Linked DNA regions of Homo sapiens: region 1 is linked to region 2. Evidence: promoter capture Hi-C in 16 types of primary human blood cells and fetal thymus (Javierre and others, 2016). All regions are on one chromosome and are shown on one strand. The core of a region is centred on a gene start or on the middle of the fragment in contact, and the rest is flanking DNA. Distances in the headings are between cores, read along the strand shown. Region 1 holds the start of CLYBL (citramalyl-CoA lyase). Region 2 holds the start of TPP2 (tripeptidyl peptidase 2).

Evidence for each region. The method cuts DNA at HindIII sites, captures the fragments that hold promoters and counts their contacts. A CHiCAGO score of 5 or more calls a contact.
Region 1: the fragment with the promoter of CLYBL here is called in contact with the fragment with the promoter of TPP2 in region 2 in 2 of 17 cell types (M0 macrophages and fetal thymus); the score reaches 8.6 in M0 macrophages.

What each region holds. Positions count from the first base shown.
Region 1 is chr13:99,604,536-99,609,220 of GRCh38, forward strand. It overlaps CLYBL (citramalyl-CoA lyase), which reads left to right and starts at 2,155. Exons shown (of 9, transcript NM_206808.5): 1 at 2,155-2,222. The coding sequence starts at 2,161. LOC105370332 (a long non-coding RNA gene) reads right to left here and starts at 1,314. Exons shown (of 3, transcript XR_931674.3): 1 at 1,227-1,314. RefSeq lists enhancers at 1,018-1,997, 1,920-2,214 and a silencer at 1,936-2,495. The HindIII fragment of the contact is 13,725 bases long and covers 1-2,645 here.
Region 2 is chr13:102,594,202-102,598,712 of GRCh38, forward strand. TPP2 (tripeptidyl peptidase 2) reads left to right here and starts at 2,785. Exons shown (of 30, transcript NM_001330588.2): 1 at 2,785-3,002. The coding sequence starts at 2,838. It overlaps LOC107984588 (a long non-coding RNA gene), which reads right to left and starts at 2,741. Exons shown (of 2, transcript XR_001749984.3): 1 at 2,247-2,741; 2 at 1-200. RefSeq lists enhancers at 2,219-2,378, 2,429-2,488 and silencers at 2,559-2,848, 3,009-3,298. The HindIII fragment of the contact is 7,622 bases long and covers 1-4,511 here.

The sequences.
Region 1 (4,685 bases), core at 905-3,404, 3.0 Mb before region 2:
AGAAGATGAGTGGGGCTGGAGATAAATTGGAGAGGCTGGCAGGGGCCAGACCGTGTGAGGCTTTAAGGGTCATGGGGAAGAACTCGGATTTTATTCTAAAGCCACTAAAGGGTTTTAAGAAGGGAAGCGATGCAATGACAATAATAATGAGGAATAGTTAACACTACTGAGAACTTGCTTAGATTTTAAGTGTGCAGTCTCTCTCTATGTATATGTAAACTCAGTCTATCATTATAACAAGCCTATGAGGTGATGAGGTATTTATACCCCCATTTTATAGATGAGGAAACAGAGAGCTTAAGAAACTTGACCAAAGTCACACAGCAAGTCAACTCTGGAACTAGGAGCTGCGTCATGCTTTTAAAAGGTCAGCCAGGTTTTATGGCAAACGGGTGATTGTAGGAGGGAAGAATGGGAGCAAGGAGGCTTTGAAATAATCCAGGTAAAGGATGATGATGTCCAGAATCAGACTTGAGTGAGGTGAGTGCAGCCCCAGCCTGGGATGCAAAATTTAAGGAGAAGTCTCAGTAATTACTGCACTCCAGCCTGGGCGACAGAGCGAGACTCCATCTCAGAAAAAAAAAAAAAAAAAAAGATAAGTAATATTGGCCTGGCATGGTGGCTCATGCCTGTAAGCCCAGCACTTTGGGAGGCTGACGCGGATGGATCACTTGAGGCCACGAGTTCGAGACCAGCCTAGCCAACATGGTGAAACCCTATCTCTACTAAAAATACAAAACAATTAGTTGGAAGTGGTGGCACTTGCCTGTAGTCCCAGCTACTCAGGAGGCTGAGGGGTGAGAATCACTCAAGCCTAGGAGGTGGAGGTTACAGTGTGTGAGCTGAGATCGTGCCACTGCACTACAGCCTGGGCGACAGAGCAAGACTGTCTCAAAAAAAAAAAAAAAGTAATATTCTAAACTAAAAACCAAGATAATGGAAAAATCCCATTATGAACAAAATATCAAAATTTTAATTAAAGACAGGATTGGTGTTACTGAAATTGCCTTTGCCTCAGGCTTCAGTATGGCTGGACCGGGCACTGGCTGGGACTAAGGTGGTGACAAGAAAGTGACCAAATTGGAGTAGACAGGCGAGGCCTGAGGTGGAGCAGGCGTGGGAGCTGGGGGAGGGCACCAAGGGGTTGAGCAGTCTCCCCTGTTGGTATCGAATATAACAATAATTCTTAGGCTCAGCAGAAGTTTAGCATCCATGTTCCCAGTCACCTGGACTTTTCCAAATCTTGGAACCCCCTCTGGCTGAAAAGGCTTTTGTTTGTTTAAACGGCCACTTTTTGCATCCAAGAGCACAAGTCAGCTTCCACTGGAAGGTTCTGAGAAACGGTTTCAGGTTTAAGTCTAGAGCATGAATGGAACGGAGTCACAGCTGAAAAAGAAACATGCCGAGTGCCAAGGAAAAGACATGGTTAAGGGGTAACATGGGCCCGGGTAGGTGAAGGTCGGCAGGTGGAGGCCGGCTGGATCAGGGAAGGTGAAAGAAGAGGCAGGGGCAGGGCCCAGCCTGTTTTAACGCCTCGGCGTTCTCACCGCTGCAGAACGGCTGCAGGGGGCAGAGTAAAGAGCTGCTGTCAGTTTCCCTGCCCAGAGAGTGCCAACAGCTGCTCTGACCTATTGCAGGCATGTGTGTTCCAGGATGCAGCCTTCCTGCACTTTGACCACTCTAGATTAATTGCTAACCAAGATATGCACATGATGGGGCTCACAAAGTATTAGGCGGTATTTTAACAACAAAAGCTGCGAAGAAATCCCTAGAAATGTTGGCTCTTCTGGCTGGGAAAACGCAGTCTGTCAACAGTTGCCTCAAAAACTCAGAAGCTCAGAGAGTTGGATTCGGTCACCAGAGAGGCCCCTCAAAGAGGCCCCAACCATTCAGATCCTCTGCTCTGTCCCCCATGACAGCGGGGACGAAGGTCCTAAGCCCTGGCCGGGAGGGCAGTTGACCTCGGGACTCGCCGCGGGGCGGAGCGGGTGCTGGGAGGAAGGAGGGCGTGGCTGGCGGGGTGTGGCTGGCGGGACGGGGCGGGGCGAAGACAGAGCGAGGCGGGGCCTGGGACGGGGGGGGGGTCGGTGTCGCCGTGGGGGCGTGGAATGTGGGGTGGGCGTGGCTAAAGGCAAAGGGCGGGGCGCGCGCGTCGGGAAGATGGCGCTACGTCTGCTGCGGAGGGCGGCGCGCGGAGCTGCGGCGGCGGCGCTGCTGAGGCTGTGAGTGCAGGTCCCCGTTCCCCGCCTTCCCGGCCCGGCTCGCCGCGGGTCGGCTCCTGTTGCAGCCCCGCGGGCCGGGCGCGGCCTCCCCAAGCCCTCACGGGAACCCAGCCGGACGGAAGCACCATGCGCCTCCCACGCGCTGGCTCGACCTCGTCCAAGGTCGCTGCCGCCCGCGCCTCCCTTTGGGAGGGCCCTCGTTGCACCCGGAAAATGGGTACACACCTTAGGTCGAATTACCTGGACTCAGCCCCAGGAAACAAAACTGCCTGCCTCCCCCAAATGGCAAACGTGAACGCGCCAGTCTTTGAGAGGCGGCTTGCCTGGTGAAGAACACCTGCGGTTCGTTTAACACAGCGGTTCCCAAACGGTTTGGTCTCAGGACCCGTTTACACGTCTAAAAATAATTTGAGGACCCCCCAAAGCTTTTGCTTATATCTATTGATTTTTGTGCATGAGGAATTAAACCAGAAATTTAAAAAATATTCACTTAATAACAAACCCATTAACTTTTAATACAAATAACACTTTAATGCATAACTTCTCAAAAAAAAAGTGAGAAGATTGGCTCATGGTTTTTATATTTTTGAAAATTTCTTTGGTTTAATAAAGGACAGCTGGAGTCTCATATCAGCTGTTTTGAAGGAAATATTTGAAAGAAATTCTGGGCTCATGCAGATGCAGATATTAGTTGGGAAAGGGAGGACCAAGCAGACCCTCTCAACGGGTCTCAGGGACCCCCTCAGGTGTCTTTGGACCACACTTTGAGAACCGCTGGTCTAGCACTTGCCCATCGCCTAGGTACGTGCACATACATGGTCTCATTTGGTTCCCTTGACCACCATGTGAAGAAGTTGGGTGTCATGTTTATAAAGATGAAAAAACAGGGTCAGAAAGGTTAAGGATTCTCAAAGCCCTATGACCAGTAATGAGAGAGTTTGGTTCAAACACTAAGTGTATGGCTCCTGGTCTGGAACTTCTTTATTTATTTATTTTTATTTTTTGAGACAGAGTCTCGGTCTGTCACCTAGGCTGTAGTACAGTGGTGTAATCTCGGCTTACTGCAACCTCCACCTCCTGGGTTCAAGCGATTCTCATGCCTCAGCCTCCTGAGTGGCTGGCATTACAGGTGTGCACCACCACCCCTGGCTAATTTTTGTATTTTTAGTAGAGACAGAGTTTCGCCATGTTGGCCAGGCTGTTCTCGAACTCCTGACCTCAAGGGGGTCCACCCGGATCAGCCTCCCAAAGTGCTGGGATTACAGGCGTGAGCCACCATGGCCGGCCTGGTGGTCTGGAACTTCTTTTTTTTTTTTTTTTTTTTTTTTTCCGAGATGGAGTTTCGCTTTTGTCGCCCAGGCTGGAGTGCAATGGCGCCATCTCAGCTGACTGCAACCTCCGCCTCCCGGATTCAAGTGATTCTCCTGCCGCAGCCTCCGGAGTAGTTGGGATTACAGGGCGTCCGCCACCATGCCCGGCTAATTTTTGTATTTTTAATAGAGACGAGGTTTCACCATGTTGGCCAGGCTGGTCTGGAGCTCCTGACCTCGGGTGATCCACCTGCCTCGGCCTCCCAAAGTGTTGGGATTAAAGGCGTGAGCCACCGTGCCCGGCCTGGGTCTGAACTTCTTACGTCTTCTTGCACTGTGACTCTTCAGTCACCCATGTCCTATGGGAGGACCCACCTAGTCTTATGCATCCCACTTTCCCATTTCCTCCGCTGCCCCTGGCACAGGGGAGTCACCCCTCGCCCTAGAGGAGCAGCTCAGGCAGTGTATCCAGGCTGGTCCAGAAGGGTCCTTTTCTGGCGCCTTTTGAGGGGGCCAGCGTCTGTGACCTGTTCAGTAGCGGGTCCAGTGAGCGCACACAGTCCCCACGCCAGTACGCTGGGGGTTAACTCAGTGCTCCTCACCCGCCTTAGCACACTGGTCTGTTCTCGACATGTCTACCCGCTGAATATAGGATTCTTGATTGGCATTTTTTTTCCTTTGAGCATTTTAAAGCGTATTATCGCACTGTCTTTTTGCCTCCATTATTCTAATGAGAATTCAGACGTTAATGTTATTAGGGTTCTATGTAAGTGATGAGTCTTTTTTTTTTTTTTTTTTTTTTTTTTTTTGCTTGATTTTCTCTTTGTCTTGGTCTTTCGGTGGTTTTATTATGATGTGTGTAGATCTGTTTGAGTTTATCCTCTTGGAAGTTTATTGAGTTTCTTGGATGTGTATACATCAAATTTGGGAAGTTTTTGGCTATTGTTCTCTCAAAAAAGTCTACTCTCTTATCTCTCTCTTCTCTTTCGGAGGCTCCCATTGCGTATATGTTGGTGTAGTTGATGGAACCCCACAGGTCTTTGAGACTGTTCCATTTTCTTTCTGTTCCTCAGGCTGGACAATGTCAATTGACCTGTCTTTGTTTTTTTTTTTTTTTTTTTTTTTTTTGAGACAGAGTCTTGCTCTGTCACCA
Region 2 (4,511 bases), core at 1,535-4,034:
AAACGTGAAAGTTTCATTAAATAATGACGATATTTATACTATGCCAGAAATTACATCCTTTATAATTTTTAAAATTTATGATAGGCCGGGCGCAGTGATTCACGCTTGTAATGCCAGCACTTTGGGGGGCCGAGGCGGGTGGATCACCTGAGGTCGGGAGTTCGAGACCAGTCTGACATCAACATGGAGAAACCCCGTATCTATTTAAAAAAATACAAACATTAGCTGGGTGTGGTGGCACATGCCTGTAATCCCAGCTACTTGGGAGGCTGAGGCAGGAGAATCACTTGAACCCCGGGAGGTGGAGGTTGCAGTGAGCCGAGATCCCGCCATTGCACTCCAGCCTGGGCAAGAAGAGCAAAACTCCATCTCAAAAAAAAAAAAAAAAATTGTGACAAATTTAGACTTCATTTTACAGCTGTACAAAGGGATACATAACTTTTTTAAAAACATGTTTATGGGATATGTAAGCAAAAAAAGAAAAATCTGGCCGGGTGCAGTGGCTGATGCCTGTAATCTGAGCACCTTGGGAGGCCGAGGTGGGTGGATCCCCTAAGGTCAGGAGTTCAAGACCAGCCTGGCCAACATGGCGAAACCCCGTCTCTACTAAAAATACAAAAACTAGCCAGGTGTGGTGGCATGCACCTGTAATCCCAGCTACTCGGGAGGCTGAGGCAGGAGAACTGCTTGAACCCGGGAGGCGGAGGTTACAGTTACCCGAGATTGTGACATTGCACTCCAGCCTGGGCCACAGAGTGAGACTCTGTGTCAAAAAAGAAAAAGAAAAGGAAAGGAAAAGAAAAATCTAAAGAACATTGTTACGGCAGTCTAATAAAAAGTCTGCCACCTAGGTTTCATAATAAACTGTTCATTCCCCATTTATTCATTGGGTGATACTCTGGCAAAGTCATGCACATGGTGTGGTAGAACATACTGGGGAGAGATTGTGAGAAGACAAATCCCGTGTTTTCATCAACCTGTTTTGTAATCCATGACAGTCAGTTAACTTTGTTTCTTCATCTATAAAATGAAGTGATTGGACTATGGTTCACTTGAAACTGGGAGCCATTCTGTTCTATCACTATAAGCTCTATACTGAATGTCTTCTGCGAGTTTGTTATTCTGTTTTCGTCTGTGTTAATTTGAAATTCTTTTCTAGAGGTAATGTAAACAGTTGGGAATAAGAAGAAAAACATTCAACTTTTCTTTTTCCTCTGCACTAAAGAGAACATGCTTGTGTAAGACTTATGGACTGAATAAATGATCAAGGAATCAGCTGAAACCATTGCACAGCCATAAGAATAATTTTTGAGACTTAATGGAGGATCTCTGAAATTCTGTGGGTTGGAAACCGCATGCATAAGGCTTTCCTTTATACCAGGTATTCTTAACTTGGTGTCCATAGACAGAATCCAAGGGGTTCAAAAACTTCCGTAGAAAAAAGATACAAACCTCTTAATTTTTTTCACATCAAGTATGAATGTAGGCAAAAACCAGGGTAGTTATGCTGTTATGTCACCAATAAAAATCAGTTCATCGTAGTGCAGTTTTCACCGCTATCTCCAAATAATTATATTCTTCACTATTTTGAAGTTATGGTAGTTTATTAGCCTTGGCCCTAGCTCCTGTTATTTAATGCAAAAGAAGTACACCTGTAACTATACACACACACGTAAAGCTCCTGCTATATAACAAAATTGCCTTTAGTATTTTTGATAACTGCATTTAAACATAATTTATTTCCTGGGTAATCCTATCTATTTCATTGTATGCATTTTAAAACACTGCTTGAGAAATAGGCCTCACCAGATTGCCAAAGGGGTCTTCGGCACAATAAAAGGCTAAGATTACCCTGGCATGAGCATAGACATAAAGATCATTAGAGGACCACTATGCAGCTTGCAGCAACTGACGGCAGGCACTGTGAATCTGGAAAACTGAAAATTATGGCTCTATAATTGAGTGGACAGCCGTAAGGAGCAATCAGAAACTTCAGTGTAAGAGGAAAAAAAAAGATGTTTTTCAGAAATCCCGGAAGCTAAGGATCAGCAGAGGATAGGAGGGGCCCATTTCAGTCTCGTGCTTTGTTACTGGCTACAAAGGCGACGGAATGACCAACAACCCACTTCCTGTTGACTGAAACTATTGCCTGTCTCCACCCTATTGCTCCCCCTCACCACCTCACCCCCATCAAAGGGGCATAACAACACAGGGGAACCCAAAGTCTACACCCCTTAACCTACGACCTTCCAAAATCATGTCCGGAGCTTTCGCCGACACCGCAGACTCCTTAGCGGCTAAGCGTGAGTGCGCCGGCTCCCTTGCCTCGGGTCAGCAGCACCCCGGGGCTGGGGCTCCTGCAGCAGCCGCACCAAAAAGTTTCATCCACAACCTTAAGTTTGGAAACTATCGTTTGCCAAGCGAAGGGTTCCCATTATTCCTGGCTGGCGGTCCATCTCCTTGCCCGTCTCTCGGGGAGTGATTCGGTCCGGGACACCAGGACTCTGCTTGGAGGCCTGCTGTTGCCTAAAAACCCCAAGCGCGGGCCTCTTCAAGGCCCCAGGTTCGAGATCCGAACCCTCCAGTAATGTCCTCAGACTCCTCCCCCTTCACTGCAGCCCGGGCAATACTCGGGCCTAGCTCCTGAGAGCGGCGCCGTTGGCTTACGTAGCAGCACGTGATTGGCCACCGCTCCCTGGCAGGCCGGGATTGGTGGAAGACGGGCCGACCCCGCCCCTCGCCCCCGCCTCCGGCCCGAGGCCGCACGGGTGTCCTCGCGCTGCTAGTCCGCGCGCAGCCTGGCAGTTTGCCGCTTCCTCGTCCTCCATCCTGCGTCCATGGCCACCGCTGCGACTGAGGAGCCCTTCCCTTTTCACGGTCTCCTGCCGAAGAAGGAGACCGGAGCCGCCTCCTTCCTCTGCCGCTACCCGGAGTATGATGGGCGGGGGGTGCTCATCGCAGTCCTGGACACGGGGGTCGACCCGGGGGCTCCGGGCATGCAGGTGAGGCGGCCCCCGAGGGCCCGGGCGCGGGGGCGCGGGCGGCCGGGGACGCGGGTGGGGACACAGTCTCGGAGCCCGGCAGGCCAAAGCCCCGCTCTGCGGCCGAGTCCGGGCCGGGGTGGGCAGCACCGGGGTGGGCAGAGGTCAGAGCCAGGCGCGGGAGGGACGGGCGCCCGCCAAGGGGACTCAACGGCGCACAGTGCCAGGGTCGCTGGGCGGGCGAGGGCCCGGACCCCAGGTTGGGCCGTGGTCCCCCCAGCTCAACAAAAGCAGCGTGCCCGGCGCGGCTGCCTGGGGAAGCCTGGGTCCCCCTTTGGCCCCAGGGACTCCCCTTCCTTCTCGCTTCGGCGCTGCCAGGCCGGACCCCCCAGGCTCCTTCCCTCCACGCCGCCTTCCTCTGCCTACCCCTCGTGCCTCGGACACCGGTCCCAGCCTGACGTTTTTAAAGAGAATTTTACAGCTTTTATCATTGGGGTGGGGTGGAGACACCAGATAGGCAACTGACATGTGAGAACTTAATGTTTAGGGATCGGGAGATTTGGTTTGGGGAAGAATAGTTTGTCTTTAAGCACGAAAGCTGGGTTTCCAGAAGATAACCCAGTCCTCTTCCGGAATTGTTTCCTGTGGTAGTTTTGTGTATTCTATTTTTAAACGGTCTTCTGCAGCGTGTTTGCTTAGGGTCATTGAATCTTGTGGCTTAGTCTTCGTTTACATAAGGAGAATTCAGTTAGGTTTGGTTTTGGCGAGCTTCTCAGACCTTATGAAAATATGCGACTTTTTTTTTTTTAAACCTGAAAACATACGACGGTTTTTAAAAATTACTTAGTTTTTTGCCTTAGGCAACTTTAAAATCTGTAGATTCAAGGTATCATACCAGAAGGTAGTTTTTTTGAAAGTATGTTGTCTCTCGTTAAAAGCATTCTGTTTAAAGTCTTTAAAGTTTAACTTTTGTACTTTTAACCCTTTACTGAAATCCAGTAATAAAATTTCACCGTTATTCAAGATCCATCTCCCAGCATCCCTGACTAATCCTACTGTATGCTGATCTCTCGTTGATCAGCCCCTGGCTATCTTATCCTCCTTTCTACACTAAACACTCATCCTCCTCCCCACAATGTCCCTTCCCTTCTGGATCCTTTATCGTGCTTTCTGATTATTGAGGTAGCATTTTGGAAGTAACGAGGGGGAGTCTGGCCGAATCTGCTTAGAAACCCCTGGGAATCTTGATTCCTGGTGTGTGTTCTTCAGCACCACTCTGGAGTACAGCACATCTTTTGTGAATCAGAAGAGGATCAGGTACTGAATTCCCTCCCGGTAACTGGAGTTATATAGTTGTCGTTGTATTAATAACTTAAAGACTTAGAACAATGACAGCTATCAACTCATTTGGGGCTTTATTACAAAGTAATAATGCTTTTCATTCAGCTGTGGAGTGTGTTTACTTTTTATAGGATGAGTGGGAGGAAAACAGCTGGGATAAGTGGTTCACCGGTTCTTTTGTCAGGATAA